Regions from separate parts of the Homo sapiens genome. Here region 1 is linked to region 2. Evidence: promoter capture Hi-C in human tissues and cell types (Jung and others, 2019). All regions are on one chromosome and are shown on one strand. The core of a region is centred on a gene start or on the middle of the fragment in contact, and the rest is flanking DNA. Distances in the headings are between cores, read along the strand shown.

The links. The method cuts DNA at HindIII sites, captures the fragments that hold promoters and counts their contacts. A contact is called where the count stands out against the background at its distance.
Region 1: a contact is called between a fragment that was not itself captured here and the fragment with the promoter of ADAM12 in region 2, in 1 of the 25 tissues and cell types used here (mesenchymal stem cells).

What each region holds. Positions count from the first base shown.
Region 1 is chr10:126,149,624-126,152,323 of GRCh38, forward strand. All of the region lies in intron 4 of ADAM12 (ADAM metallopeptidase domain 12), which reads right to left. Among named protein-coding and RNA genes, the nearest start is that of FANK1-AS1, 180 kb to the left of the region's middle. The HindIII fragment of the contact is 3,274 bases long and covers 1-2,700 here.
Region 2 is chr10:126,387,038-126,389,737 of GRCh38, forward strand. ADAM12 (ADAM metallopeptidase domain 12) reads right to left here and starts at 1,440. Exons shown (of 23, transcript NM_001288973.2): 1 at 1,021-1,440. The coding sequence starts at 1,108. The HindIII fragment of the contact is 8,947 bases long and covers 1-2,700 here.

The DNA of each region.
Region 1 (2,700 bases), core at 149-2,648, 240 kb before region 2:
GCAGAGGAATGTGGAAAGACTAGACTGGCTGAGTTTTCTGGCCTTTACCTTTCTCCCGTGCTGAATGTTTCCTGCCCTTGAACATCGGACTTCAAGTTCTTCAGCTTTTGGACTCTTGGACCTACACCAATGGTTTGCCAGGGGTTCTCGGGCCTTCAGCCACAGACTGAAGGCTGCACCATCGGCTTCCCTACTTTTGAGGTTTTGGGACTTGGATTGGCTTCCTTGCTCCTCAACTTGCAGATGGCCTATTGTGAGGCCTTACCTTGTGATCGTGTGAGTCTGTACTCCTTAACAAACTCCCCTTCATATATACATCTGTCCTATTAGTTCTGTCCTTCAAGAGAACCCTGACTAATACTAATACAGATGCCTAAGAAAAAGAAAACTAGTAAGGGAGATTGTAACAGAATGCACAAAACTATTCAAATAACTTTGAATGCATATTTTACACATTCTAGAGATGTCTGTATTAGACAAGCACTGTTCACCATCATAGATCGTGGACATTTGGAAGACCGGAGCCTATTGTTGTGGTATTTCTAAGATCTCTCTTTTCTGTTTCTTTCTGAAATAACTATTTACACTGTGGAGATAGCCTCAGTGCTGAGTCTGAAAACATATTTTAAATGAGATCTTAGGGAGGTAAAAGAGGACATAAACGTCAAATGTGAACTCATGGCCCTGCCCATCACTTATTTATGACGTTGATCCACAGATCTTTACTTTAGGACTCCATCTTTCTCTGTACTCTAGGTTCTTATATATCCATCTGCCTACAGAAGACCTTTACTTGGCTGTCCTATGACAAACTCAACACAGACAAACCAAGACTCATCTCCTCTGCCTTCCAACCAACAACTGCTCCTTAATGGTACCACTGAGAAACAAATTGCCCATCCAATGGCCTAAGTGGAAGGGAAAGTCCCACTGATGACACCTCCCCCACCCTCTATCCCCTGATCCTGTCTCCTTTGACTTCCCAAGGACTCTTGACTCTGGCCAATTGCTGACCATTCCAAGGCCCAGTTCTGTAGGCAAAATTTTCACTAACTACAATGGGCCCATAAGAAATCTTCCTGTCTTCTGTCTACCAATATTCCTACCAATCTTTCTTCCATTCTGTCATCAGAGACCCTTTCTAAATCACAGAACTGAACAGGCCATTCTGCTGCATGAGAACTTCCTATGACTCCCAAATTTCAATAGGTAAAGTTGAAACTCTTTAGTATGGAAAGGTTTCATCCCCATCTTGGTCTTCTTCTTTGCCCACTTTTAAAGACCCAGATTAATGTTACTTCCTTAGTGAAATGGCGTCCAAAGAATTAAAATCAGCCACAATTAAAATACCACAGTGGTATTTTGTACACATCTCCTATTATAGTAATTACATTAAAACATGTTTTTTAAATGTCTTTAAAATGCTCTGTGCCTCTTAAGCAGGATTTATATGCTGAGGAATATATTTTAGTCAGCCTATCTCCCCATAGCCTAACAGTGTCTGCAAACAGGAGGTGCTAAATAAATGTTTGCTGAGTGAATAGATGAAGAAATGAATTTTACATGGCATCACCTAAGACAATGCAATGCTAGATGGATAATTTTATTAAAAATCTATTATATGCAAGATGCTATGTGAGGCTCTATGGGGTTAGGAAAGGGATAGATAGCATTCTCCACTCACAAAAGCTATTAAAATCACTATAAGAAACAGTATAGGTTATCACAGAAGAAATACTATCAGTTATAATACTTTTAATCTGAAGATATTAATGGATTAAATTACCTTAGTAGATATACTAATGTTGAACTATCCTTGCATTCCTCAGTTGAGTATAATTTGGTCAGAAGTATTTTTAAAATATGTACTGGATAGGGTTTGTAAAATTTACTTAGGATTTTTGCAACTACGTCCATAATTGAAACTAGTCTGTAGGATTCATTTTGTGCATGCTCTTTTTCTTGTTTTAGAAGCTCCTTCCACACCCTCCTTTAAAAAAATTATTCTTTTTTTCTCAGGAACTATTTGTTTCTTATATGTTAGTTAAAACTCACCAGCTAAATCATTTGAGTCTGAGCTTATTTTTGTCAGTAAATATTAAAAGTACTATTACAAATTTAATATCTTTATATAGTTATATTTAAATTTTCCTCTTTCACCTTGATCCAGTGTTAATAATTTTACATTTCTAAGAAATAATTAGTATTGTTCACAACATTCTTGTGATTTAAAAAATCTCTGAATAAAAATATTTATATCCCTCTTTGCATTCTTAATATTATTTACTTGGGAATTCTTTCTTTCTTAATTTTATAAATGTCTTGTCCATTTTATGAATATTTTCAAAGCACCAGCTTTTGGTTTAATTCATCTTCCCTCTTGAGTTTTTTTTTTTTTTTTTTGGTCTTCCTTTTCATTAATTTCTGCTCATTTAAAAAATCTTCATTTCTGAGAGAGGTATATTTAAATCTCCCACTCTGTGAATGTGTCCAGACATTTTCAGTGACTTGCTTTATGAATTAAGCTTATCAATTTTACATCTAGAGACTTTTCTTTTGAGGAAAAATTGTAAAATGCTGTCAGTATTGAAAGCTTTTTTGGTAACCTTCTAGGAACCAAACAAGTTTTAGCCCATAATGTCTAATCTTTAATGCTTTTTTGTTTTGTTTCGGATTTTCAGAAATCCTTTAATTAGGAGC
Region 2 (2,700 bases), core at 190-2,689:
ATAAAACGTATCATAAAGTGGTAACGGTTCGTGATTTAGGCCAGTTGTTGAAAAATAAATGCCTGTTATATAGAATCACAGAACTTGAGAGCTTGCGGCCAAGGGAAGTCGTTCATCGGTGGACCGACAGCGCCCCGGGCGGCAGAAAGAAGGCGGCGGCGGCGGAGACCCGGGGAAGTTGCCGGATTTTTAAAAAGGCACCTGCTGGGTGAGTCCTCACTGTGCAAACGGGAGCCACAGGTGCCCGATTTTAAGGGGCTACAACTCGGGAAAACCTAAGTCTGTAAAACTAAGTACGTTAAACTAAGTAAGTTCTCGCTGTGCACCAAGTTGATGGGGGCGATTATTTACGGCGGAGAAACTGAGTGGAGGAAGGAGGGAGAATTCCGCTAAAGTTTGCCTGCGACTGACAGCTAGGGAGTGACCTGGAAGCCAGGAAGAGGGGCAGAGAGGAAACTAAAGAAGTAGGTAAGAGAGTCAGTTTATGAAAATAGAGCCTGCTGTGGAGAGCAGCAGGCACACCTGCGGAGGAGGGGGCTGCCTCACCTGCGGGGCCGCTGCGCGCCCCCCTAAGTGTGTTAGCGGGGGAGGCGGGGCTGGAAAGGAAACCTGGTGAAGGGCTGGCCCGGAGCCTGGGGTGGGGATATTCACTGCGGGATAGGGCCAGCAAGAGGACCCGACACGCATCGTCCCGAGTGACACGTGTAAATGTCAAGATACAGAGACATCTGCAAATGTCACCCAAGAGGGTGAGGACGGGGGAGCGGTCCCGAGGCTGTGCCCTCCGGGGCAGGTACTGGCTCCTGTGGGGCTGCGGGCCAAGTGTCGCCCTTCCCCAAGGAATTGGCACCTGGGGGGGGGGGGTCGGTCTCGCCGCGCTGGAAGCGCAAGCCCCGGGGCTCCGGAGATGCGCCGGGGCGCGTCGCCCCTCGGGGCAGCCCTGGACCTCGGCGCGCCCAGGCGCAGCGTGCGGTGCCCTCGGCGGGGCGGGCAGCGAGCCGCCCTAGTTCGGCGACTTACCTCGGGCCTCGCAGGGCGCGAGCAGAGCACCGGCCAGGGCGAGCAGGAGGGCGCGGGCGGGGGACACGGGCAGCGGGCGCGCTGCCATCGTCGCCGGCCTTCAGTGCAGCAGCTCTCGGGCCCGGCGGCGAGCGCTGCACCATCCCACGCGGGCGCCGAGCCGGGGCCGGGCGTCGCGACCGGAGGGATTTCCTGCCTCGGCGAGTCAGCTCCGGAGCCCTCGCGCAGCGCCCGCGCCGCCGCTGAGCTCTTCTAGCCTTTCATTTTTAAAAAAGTTTCCCCCCGTGTGTGTGCGTGCGTGCGCGCGCGCGCGCCGTTCTGGCACAAGCCAGCCTTGACCGTTGCAATAAATGAGCAAACTGTCCGAGTTGGCCCGGGGACTAGGAAGAGCGTTAGTGAGAGAAGGCAGGCCTGTGAAATGGATCCACGGCCAGCAGTCACCGTTCTTATTACCGCGGAACAAATTATTGTCTCCCCCGCACCCCCGCCAGTTGGCGGCGTCCCGCGGGTCCTAGAGACCGCTCGGGTCCCCCCGCCAGGGTCCCGCCCCGAGCCGCGGCTCGCTCACCCCCGAGGGTGGGCGGCTCAGACGTGGCTCAGTGGCGTCCGGGCGCCCGGAGCGCACACGTCCCCGCCCCAGGATGATGTGGCCGCAGGGCCCGGGGCGCCCGGCTGCCAAGCGCACATGCGGCGGCACGGTCCAGCTTTTCAGGCTGAAGCTGGAAACGATGACTCTGCTACTCGCTCCCCGGCTCTCTGGGAACCCTCGGAGTGCGGGTCAGGTCTCCACCGCGGCCCACAGCCCGGCGCGCGACCCCGCCCGGCCCTAAGCGCCCAAAGGGGCATCTCTCGCCCGAGAAACAAGCTTGGACTCGCAGGCACAAGACACCTGGGCGTTACTTTTGATCAACAGTGTTAGGTTTTACGTTGATAGATTGGCTCACGTTTCCATTCCATGACCTGGACCCAGAAAAGGGTGTACAGTGACGTTCCCCAAACTTTCCTGATTGTAAGAAGCACCTGGGTTGGCTTGTTAAAAAGATTCCCGGGCGCCCTCCTACGCTTTCAGAATGAGACTCTCCAGGCTGTGAGGCCAGGGGAGCCCAGGGTGTTTGGAGAAACACCAATGAAAGAATGGTGCGCCTTGCCTTCTCATCCTTGTTCCGGGCTGACCCCACCTCTTCAGCCTCGCTCGGCCCTCAGGGAGACCATGAAAAGCAGCAGCGAGGGGGCCCGCACAGACAGAAATGGCTGGAGCTATGGAGGATGGCTGATGCCCACCCTGCGGGTTACCATGATTCCCAACCTTGGGGACTTATTAGAATAGTAAGAGTTAAAGACATTGCCAGCCCCAGACACCAGTTAACTCAGTTTCCCACAATGCGTGGAGCTCAATAGTTTTCAAAGCCTCAGGTGATTCTACTGTGCTGCTCAGACCTAGGACCACCTGCAGAAATTCCATCCTGGTCCTGCGACCTCGCACCGATTCCTGACGGAGCACCCACTCCTAGGAGGCGGTTATCCAGCATTTGAGGAAGCTGCCTTCCATACCATCTCTTCCCACTGCAGAGGAGTTTTCTCAGGAGTTCCCTCCCACGGCAGGTTTTGCAGTGTTCCCAAAACCCAGGTCGATCCTCCTAACAAGGTGCAGGACTTTCTTTTTAAAAAACCTTAGTGGGA